Regions from separate parts of the Homo sapiens genome. Here region 2 is linked to region 1. Evidence: promoter capture Hi-C in 16 types of primary human blood cells and fetal thymus (Javierre and others, 2016). All regions are on one chromosome and are shown on one strand. Each heading gives the region's core, a stretch centred on a gene start or on the middle of the fragment in contact. The rest is flanking DNA. Distances are from core to core; before and after follow the strand shown.

What was found. The method cuts DNA at HindIII sites, captures the fragments that hold promoters and counts their contacts. A CHiCAGO score of 5 or more calls a contact.
Region 2: a fragment that was not itself captured here is called in contact with the fragment with the promoter of EOMES in region 1 in 6 of 17 cell types (total CD8 T cells, non-activated CD4 T cells, naive CD8 T cells and 3 more); the score reaches 17.4 in total CD8 T cells.

Annotation. Positions count from the first base shown.
Region 1 is chr3:27,720,864-27,725,969 of GRCh38, forward strand. EOMES (eomesodermin) reads right to left here and starts at 1,460. Exons shown (of 6, transcript NM_001278182.2): 1 at 551-1,460. The coding sequence starts at 1,431. RefSeq lists a silencer at 886-1,095 and an enhancer at 3,641-4,515. The HindIII fragment of the contact is 2,734 bases long and covers 1-2,441 here.
Region 2 is chr3:27,906,278-27,911,412 of GRCh38, forward strand. No RefSeq gene overlaps it. Among named protein-coding and RNA genes, the nearest start is that of LINC01981, 75 kb to the left of the region's middle. The HindIII fragment of the contact is 199 bases long and covers 3,059-3,257 here.

The DNA.
Region 1 (5,106 bases), core at 210-2,709:
GCACCGAACCCGAGCCAGGTCTGGCTCCAGGGCAGATCTAACCACCTACTCCGACCGAGCTTCCGAGGCCGGCGCTCTAGCCTTCATGCCCACCTCCCGGAGACGCCCCGTGGAGACCCTGGCGCCTAAAACTGCGGGAGCCCATCTACTGCGCTCAGGTGGCCAGCTCTTGAGCCTTCCCTATCCGTGGCTCCTTGCCGGCATGCAGGCATGCACAAGCATACCGCCGAGCAGGAGGATCTAACGAATCCAGCTTGTGGACATGCCCTAATTTCCATTTCCGCCTCCTCCAGGTCTGTTCAGGTGAGGATGATGGGAGGGAAAAGCGGTGTACAGCCGTAACATTGGCACCCTGCAAGAGCCGCCGGGGCACTGACACAGAGGGACACCGCATTGGAGATGCGGTGTCTACGGAGATTTATTGCGCGCGGTGAAACACTCTAAGCACCGCGCGGAACAACTGGGTTCAGCTCCCTCATCCCGGACCTTCCCCAGGACCACACGTCACCCTTTATCCCCGAACCCAGGGGCCCCTCCACGCTGCGCTCACCTGCCCTGTTTCGTAATGATCATCTCAGTTTGGTGGCGGTGGAATTTGAGCCACAGAGGCCGGTTGCACAGGTAGACGTGGGCACGGAAGCCAGAACCTGGAACCCCCAGGCCCCCCAGTCCTCCGCAAGATCCCGCCGCTGCGGCTCCAGGGTACGGCCCGTAGAGCGGAGCCCCCTGGCTGTACTGATAGGTGCCCGGGCCGCCGCCCCCGCCGCTGCTACCGCCCGCGCCACTGCCCGCACCGGCTCCTGGGCCGAACTGCGCCCTCCCGGGTGGGCACACAGCCGCGGGGAAGCCGCCGGGGGGCAGCATGGAGCCGTAGGGGTAGCGCGCCCCGTTAGGAGCCGGGTACACAGGTCCGTGGGGCGCCCCAGCCGCCGCCTGGTACGGGAAGAGTGAGCAGGGCGCAGCCAGCTCCGACCCCTGAGGACCGGGGGACTGGAGGTAGTACCGCTCGGAGCTCAGGCTGTCCATGGAGTAGCGCGCAGTGGCCGCAGCCGCGGCGGCGGCGGCGGCGGCGGCTGCAGCGGCGGAGGGCAGCTCCTCCTCCCCGCAGGGGGAGCCCTTGCGGCCGTCCGGGGGCCCCGGCTTGGCCACTGCCGCAGCGCTGGCAAATGCGTCCCCGGCGTCGGTGTCACTAAGCATGGCCGCGGGGGCCCCTGCGCTGGCGGCTGCGGGCTCCCCGCTCACCGCCTCGCAGGAGAGACTGCCGGAAAACTTCTTGGACGCTTTGTCTAAGTCCAACTTCTGAGGAGAGGGGGCCGCGCTGGGGAGGTGGCCAGCGCTCCCGCCGCTGCCGCCTCGCGCACTCTCCAGCGGGTAGAAGTGCGCGCCAGGCAGGTTCACTGAGCTCACCAAGAGCTGCTCCCCTAACTGCATGCTTTGCAAAGCGCAGACGGCAGCTGGCTGCTTCCTCTCCTCCGGTGGCCTTATTATAAAGGCAGGATGGGGGAGCCAGCGCCCTCTTCCGAGGGGAAGGTAACTTCCCCTTCCTCCCGCGCCGGGGCTACCCACCTGCCGACTCGCGGGCCGCTACTGCGCGTACTGGCGCGCCCTGAATCCAGCGTCCTTTCCGGAAGGAAAGCGCCGTGAGTTGGAAAGCAGGAGGTGGAAACTAACCCAGAAGCCCTCTCCTTTTCCTTCCTCGTACCTCTTGCTCCTCAGGACCCCCACCCTCCTCCCAGGCTCACACGCTGGAAGAAGGTGACTTAGATCTTTGTCCCCATCCACCCACTAGCCCGCGCCTTTCTGCCCTTTTTCAATTGCCAAAGCATCGGTCAAGTTGACCACTTGGAAACTTATGGGCTGTCACTAGCTGCTTTATATATTTGCGGCCAGGGAGGGGCTTCCCGGCCTCACAGCCCGGAGACCCTCCTATTGGCTGGTGGAGGTGACACTAATTCAATTAGGCATTTACTAATTGGATCAAGTCGCCTGTGACTTTCTTTTCCTTTTTTTTTTTTTTTTTTTTTTTTTTTTTTTGAGACTGCGTCCCGCTGTGATAATCAATCCTGGTGTCTGTAATTTCGCCGGAATTTAGGGGGACAAAGTTTGGGGTCTCCATAGCGGTGTCCACCCTTGGCGCATTAGTCATCTCAGCCCTCCGCTGGAGGAATGAGATGGCTGGAGCAGATTTTAGAGGCCAGAGAGAGAAAGACTCTTCAAGCTGATAGCTTGCAGGGAAGCGCCCGTCCCGGAGGCTGGGGAAACTGGGGCAAGTTGGAGACAGGCCCAAGGAAGTCTCTTTCCTCGTCGGAAGCTGTAACTTCAAAGCACACCTTCCTCTTGTCGAAGGCAAACTCCCTGGCCTTCAACGCACAGAACCACTTTTTGTTTGTTCCCATCCTTTTACCCAGTGGGAAAGGTTTGTAGAGAGGAAACTCGCGCTAAGCTTTTGGGATTCCGGGGACGGCCAGAGCACATTGCCATCCTGGAGGACCTAAGCTCTCAGCTTCTAAATCAGAAGCTTGGACAGGGTACTGGGGACAGGACAAGAGTGAAACTAAGCGAGCTAACACCAACTTCATACTCACGCCAACACAACTGCTTTCGGGGAGACAGTCACTTTTATTCCCCACAATTTAAAATCCTTTCTGCTCAGTTTTCCTGATCCCGGATTCCGTCCCTTCACCACCATCTTCAGTTAGGCCTGACACCAAGAAACAAAGCTTCCCTAACAGCCCCACAGTTAGGATTCCCTGCGCCTCTGCTCTGCGGCAAATACAGAAGGTAGAATAATTAGTGAAATAATCAGTTTGATATTGAATTAAACTCCAGCTGCTTGTTTCTTCGCTGCGTTTCCTCAGATAGATTCAAGAGCGGGGCCGTCATATTTTATCGTTTCATTATTACGGAAGCGGGGGGCACGTTTCGTTGCGGATAAGGAGAAGCCTGAATATTCGCTGTTAATAAGCAATTACAGACGCCGCCAGTAATCGCTCCGGGAGCGCATTTTCCGGCTGAGATGTCGGGACTCTGCTTCCCCAACCGAACGCGATCACACGGGAAACTCTTCGCCCACAACAGATGAGATGGCCAAAGGATTGCTGAGTGCGCACACGCAAGTGTAGAACAGTGCGAAGCTTTCCAACCCAGTTTTCCAACCACAGCAGCACCAACATCGGCATGTCTGGGGTCTCCGAGAACGAGGTCCTTAATGCACTTAGACTCTCCAGGGCATTTATCACGGTTTTTTTTTTCTTTTTTGATGTGTGTGTTCGCGCGCTCGCGCGCTCGCGTGTGTGTGGTGGTGAAACCCAGGAGTGCGCGAAGATTTTCAGGGTCAAGGCACAGCCACAGGGGAGGGGGCAAGTTGAGACTAGTGGGCTGGGGCGGTGGCCTTGTAGGTCCTGGGACAGAGTGGCCAGGAGCAGATCGCCAGAAAGCTGGTACTGAGCGCGTTCTGCCCTGCGCTTCCTGCGTTTTGTGTCATCAGTATAGTTAGTGTTTGGCACGGCTGTTTTGATCACTACATTGTCCATGCCTTCCTCCCCTGCTTTAGTGTTATTTTGACCCAAGGAAGTCTAGAACATTGATTGTTCAAGTAGTATAGCTCTGTGAATACCTCATGACTGTCAACGTGAAGATCCCGTGAGGGGTACGCGAGCTCAAGGAAAGAAAGAGGCCGTGCAGCTTGGGCGGCTTGGACGACGTATCTATCCCTGGGCTAGCGGGTCCTGATTACTATTCGTAGGATCCTCCACATTATCCTTTACCTGAGTTGCAAGATATCTAAGGCAAAAGTAGGGATGAGAAATCTCCCTAATGTGAGACCTAATCTCACGTTATTTGGAGCTAGGGTGGCCAAAGGTACATGACAGTTTTGCGCTTTAACAAAGCAAGAAGCGGGCCTCGGCGTCCCTTCAAAATGCTTTTGACGCAGCCAGGGAAGCGCTTCGCGTGGCAAAGTGCCATCGCAGGCAACAGGCATCGTTCCGACCCACTCTGGCGCGAATAACGCGGGCCAGCTGTCCCCCGAGCCACATCAGAAAGCGTTGATTTTATTCCAGCCCCAGAGCAAGCTTTTGAAAGCGCATGAGTTCAGTATGAGCACCACCTAATTATTAAATATACACACGATGTATATAATTAGAATTTGTATTGATTCTTGGGGACAGGAAATTTTGGTTGATATCTACCCACTTCCCCAGTAAATCTATTATTTTTCCCAAACTTCAACACATTTTACATATGGAGGAGCAAAGACAAATTCAAAGAGAATAAAAATTCAGTTTCTATAAAACTACTCTAGGACCCAGGATTTTTGGAACATGGAAAATATGTACATAATATTATATTACATATTGTATTACATTACATTTGTAAGTATATGTTACAAATTCTCTTTAAAATAATGAAAAGCACTGTTTCAGCTACAGATCTTTTTTTTTCTGGCTGAAGATAAAAAATCTCATTTAATGGTTCCTCTGTGTTAATTAGCTAATCACATTATTATTATTATTATTACATTTAGAATATACTAGTCTAGAATGCCTGGAGAGTTATAGATGAGCAAGTCTGTGATTTCCTGCTTGAAATGGGCTTTCCTTTTGCTGGCTCAATATTATAGCCAGGGGAAGAGACATAAAAAATATTTTCACGTGTCCCAGCCACACTTTAAAATCCAGGCACTCCTTTCCAGAAGTAGGAATAGAAAAGAAAGCCAAAGCAGTGGCTTAAGTGAACATGTCAGGCAGCACCCTCCTTAGACTGGGTGGGCAAATAACAGAGCCTTCCAGCCTGTTTGCTGTTTGATTTCAATTACACCCCAAGCTTCATGAAATCCAAATGAGACATTTATTGAAAGGTGCCTGGTTTTATGTGGCTCAACTGACAGTGTATTGGAATACATTGAACAAAAACATCAACACTGGGGAGGAAACATGGAAACCCCTTGAAACCCCAGACCCAAATACCTGCTGGATTAACTCAAATCTTGTACCTTTCAGCCTGAGATGGAGCAAGCAGGAATCTTTAAAGGCTACCAGGAAGCCAAGGCCAAGTCTGTGTGTGAACACATTAAAGATCTCACGCTCTATTGTTCTGAGGAATAAT
Region 2 (5,135 bases), core at 1,908-4,407, 190 kb after region 1:
ATCTCAGACTCTGCTTCTAGGGAATCCAACCCACAACAATGTCTCATTCAGATTAAATATATGAAAGGAACTACTTGTGGGAAATTGGATGGATTGTATAGAAGGATTTTTATTGGAAATAGCTATGGAGTTCCAACCACCTTTCCCCAAAGTGGAAGAGTGTGCTGTGCTATCTTCTGATCCTGAGCTAGAGAGAGGGGCTGTCACTGGATCACTCAAAGTGCTTCATATCTATCCTAGCAGCTGGGGCCACGGTGGAACAATTTACCTGGGAGTTCTAACACAGCTTGAGGCAAGAGGGTTTAGGGTACAGTGGGGAAAAATTGCATTCTCCCTGATGGCAGTTAAGGAGTGTGAATTTCAGAGACTAGATGAGGAATTCATGGGAGGAATGGGACCTGGAGTCATTTTTAAAGCGATTATTTCCTAGAGGATGACCTGTTAGGGAAGGGGACCCCAATAGTTTACAAACCTGACTGAGGGGGTTTCAGGAGTAGTCAGTCAAAGGAAAAGTACAGCCTAGGGCAAGGGTTAAAAATTTTTTCTGTAAAGGCTCAGAGAATAAATATTTTAATCTCTGTAGGCCACAGAGTCTCTGTTGCAATTATTCAGCTCAGTCATCGTCACACAAAAGCAAGCATAGACAGTATGTCAGAGGATGGGCATGGCTATGTTCCAATGAAACTTTATTTATAAAAACAGGCACTAGGTGGGATTTGGTCGGCCTGCAATAGTATGCCAAATCCTGACCCTGGACCAAGTAGAGTCAATTAGAGGGGATCAGCAGGGGAAACTACAAAGAAGCTGTGAATTTGCCTAGGAGCAAGTTTTCTTTAAATGTCTAACCATTTTATGTTCATATCAGTCAAGCAAAATTATTTCTGCTCACCTTTCATTTCTTTTCTCCCCAGACTCCAGCTTTGGAAGAGTCAGACACTGAGATTAGTAAAGCAAGGAAGAGTGAGCAAAGAAGACTAAGTTAAATTTGGAGTTTTGTTAAAGGGATTAGATAATTCTAACTATTTTAAATTATTTTTAAAATTATTAAATTATTAAAATTATTTTTAATTATTTTTAAAATTATTAAATTATTAAAATTACTTAATAATTTTTAATTATTTTAATTATTGAAATGAGGTTGTAATATAAGGTAACTGCAGAATTTTCTATTAATTGTGTGACCAGAAAAGGCACAATATTCAGTCAGTTTTTATCTAGTCACTGGGAAAGAATGTCCTCCCCAGAATAAATTTTAAAGGGACAGCAAGAGACAAAAATAAAAATGAGGCTGGTCACAGTGGCTCACACCTGTAATCCTAGCACTTTAGGAGGCTGAGGTGGGCAGATCACCTGAGGTCAGGAGTTCCGAGACCAGCCTGGCCAACATGGTGAAACCCTGTCTCTACTAAAAATACAAAAATTAGCCGGGCATGGTGGCAGGTGCCTGTACTCTCAGCTATTCGGGAGGCTGAGGCAGAAGAATCGCTCAAAACTGGGAGGTAGAGGTTGTAGTGAGCCAAGAGCGCACCACTACACTCCAGGCTGGGTGACAGTAGAGAAACCCTGTCTCAAATAAATAAATACATAAATAAAAATAAAATAAAGGTGCTTTCTTATTACATTTAATTTGTCCTGCTTGTCTGAGGTACTTCTTACATTTATATTTGTAGGTCCTTGCCCAGAATTGAACCTAAAAATATTCCCAATATTGAGAAGTTTCCAAAGCAGGCACACAAAGTGGTTCTTGAGGGAAAAGGTTGGTTTTGAATTCCAGTGAGGCCTGGAGAACACAAAGCTATGCGAATCGCAGGTGAGTCAAAGCATTCCTGTCCCCTTAAGTCTTCACCCTCCTCTCTGTTCCCATGAGGAGTTGGACAGGGGAGGACGCCAGGAGCAAGAACGAGTGTGAGGGGCACTTGGAGAGTGAGAAGAGGGGAAGAGGCTGACCACACTCATTTCCCTGAAGGCAGTAGTGGGCTGGTGGGTGGGGTTAGAAACCTCATCTTTGTTCAAATGTGACTTGATAGTCCACACTTTAATCTCTCAATTAAAACTGTTTGTGACTTACGATGACTATAGGACTTTCCAGTATGTAAGAATTAACAGAAAAGTCATGTGACTGCCTTACTTTGCATCCAGAGGCGGAAAAAGGCTATTCTCCTGGAACAAGACTGAGAGACGAAAGCAAAGTTGTCTCTCTCTTCACAACCCATGAGCCCCACATGTTTAATACACTGGGTAAACAGATAAATGTGAAATGGGGCCGGGCTCTGGGAGCCCTGTGTCAGGGGCCTTCCCTCACTCTGCAGTGCCCTGCTCCCCAAGACCTCCCTAGGAAACCCAGGGTGTCAGGAGGCACAGTTTGCCAATCACTGCGGCATATCTAGCTCTCCCTTAATTCGGAGGCCTGCAGAAAACAGCTTAAAACTGACTAAAAGTGTGATGATACCAATGAATTACTTCTCGGTGTTTTCCTTAGGATGTGCCACAAACTGACATCAGAGTGCATTCCAAAATAATAGCATAGTTCAGGGTCAGAAAACTTTTCCTTCAAAAGACAAGATAATAAATATTTTAGGCTATTCAGGCCATATATTATCTGTGGCAACTACTCAACTCTGCTGTGGTTCTTGAAAGTAGCTGTATATAATGCATAAACATATGAGTGTGATGATATTCCAGTAAAACTTTATTTACAAAAACAGGGATCGTGGACTATAGTTTGCTAACCCTTGCTGTATTGTCTCGAAGCATCCATGTCTTGTTTTTCCAATAAGAGGCCCCATTTTCCTCCAGAATGACCCCTATACCACCAGCTCTACTACCCAGTCTGTGTGGTTCAGGGACAGAGGCTCGCAAATGTCACAAATGTCAAAGCCCTCTCCTCTAAATCCAGGGGAGGACATGTCATTCAGAGCTGGACAAACATGGTATGCCTCCTTGTGTCAACTACTATTGACTTAGGGTGAGTACCTGAGCCAAGGCAATCAAAGTCAAATTAGATTAAGTGAAGGGACTTTTGCTTTAATAGCTTTGGATTTTAGGCTGGAAAGAGGTAAGCTTGAAATATTGGGATGAACAGGGAAAAGGAATCTGCCTGTCTTTGGTGGGATTCCCTAATACAAAGATTTGTTTCCAGGGAAATCTGAGGGAGATATGGGAGTCAGATTGGGAAAGCAGGGAGACCAAGCAAGGATGCAATATCAAGAAAAGCCCCATAAATGGCAGCTTTGGCTAAGTTCTGAGGGAGGTGGGAAAGCTTTGGGGCCAATCTCAACTGTGAAGTTGTTCTCATCAGGGAACTCTGCCCCTGCCAGTCATTGGTTAAGGTCTACCCCTGGAGAACTTAAATTCCTAGGCTATTCTAGCATTCAGGGCAGTACTTGCCAATATTGGCTTTAGAGCATGAAGGCAAAGCACAGGTGCTATCTCTCAGAAGAGAAAGCATTGCTAGGTTAAGGTGTATGAGGATGATGTGTAGAAAACGGACAGCTTCTGCTACACTGCTAGAGAGAGAAGTGAATTTTAAAAAAGTAAAAATAAGAGATGGGGAGAACCTGAGGGCTTATGACAATTTTTGACCTCTGTGTCCAGCTATTCCAGAAACACTAATTTACCCCTGGATTTTAAAGTGACTTGCGAGGAATAGGGGGAGAGGAGGAATCCCTGTAAGTTTTCTATTACTTGCAAGCGAAAGTGTCTTAATGGAGAGAGACACACGATTGATCAGACTTTGCCATAACACAGAGTAGGAAGAAAATAAATCTTAAAAGGTGGCATATTGGCCTGTGGACCTCAAGTCTTGGAAGTAACTTCTCTCAGTGGAGCTTTCGTGTCTCTATTTCTATTCTTAATAACAGCCCAATTGTGGAACTGCAGGGGTAGAAGTCTTTCACACCCTTATAAAAATCCAACTTCTGAGAATGAGGGAGGGCCTGAAAAGTCTGACCCCCATTGGGGACAAACCCCAGGTGTACTCAAGGCCTTAATAAATAATGGAGCACAAGTAGAAGAAAAGGCAAGAAATGTGGGAAATGTGATATCGCAGTTCCAAGGCCCAGTGGACCAACTTGGCAGTCTTGGATAGAAACAGATTAAGTGTGAGAAATCACTCATCCCTAATATATAGTTGTTTCATGGACTTTGCCATTGTGAGAAGCATTCAGCTTCAGTAAGTCACAGACAACAAAATGTGCATTTTTTCACTTCAGAGGATTTAGCCAGTTGATTAACTACAAAAAGAAGGAGCTTCGTGGGTAAAAGACTGAGCTTTCACTTTAGGGAATTCTGGTTGAGCCCTCCAAGAAACGGAGTTCACGTCTCAGCTCTGGGACTCTCAAGGATAATAGCTCACATCAGAAAACCACAGTAAAGGATTTGGCAAGCGGGGACCAGGGCAGGCAGTTGGATGGGCAAGGAATTATGGGAAGTCTCTCCTCCCATCCTCCCAGTTAGGGAAATTCTTAAAGAGATGGCAGAATAAGTGGAAAATATTATAAATCTAGCACTAAGTCTGATTTGAAATTGCCTCATATTTTTAGAAAAACAAAGAATGTGTGGTGCTTACAAAGAAAGATGATGGTCATAAAAATATTCTTCCTCCCTATCTCTGTATGTTTGTTCTTTTTCTTACTTTTAAGGGAAACTACTTACCAATGGGATAGGAAATCAGAAAAGCACAGAGGCTCACAAATGTCCATGTATTCAGGACTGACCTTACCAATAGGCAGATTAGATTAGGTGTAACCAAAAGAAATCACTAACATTTGACAACTTTTGACCTACAAAAATGACAGTTTCATATGACACAGCCTAATAATTTTGATATTGGGAAAAGAGATTCACTAAAACAATTTGATATTAAATAATTCAAAAAAGTATTGCAGCAGCCTTCATAGGAAAAACCAGAATGTTGAATGTTTTTGTGTTTTCTGTTATTTACTTTATAGTTCAGTATTGCCTTTAATTTGAGTTACATGTTGAAGGTGAGGTAGAAGCAGAATAAATTTTTCAGAACTTGGGTATATAAAGATCCCATCTGATCCCTGGTTACATTCATCATATGAATCTCTGCAGGTCTTTCTCTTGTAAATGTTATTATTCCAAACACCTAATAAAGGACCCTGACTCCACCA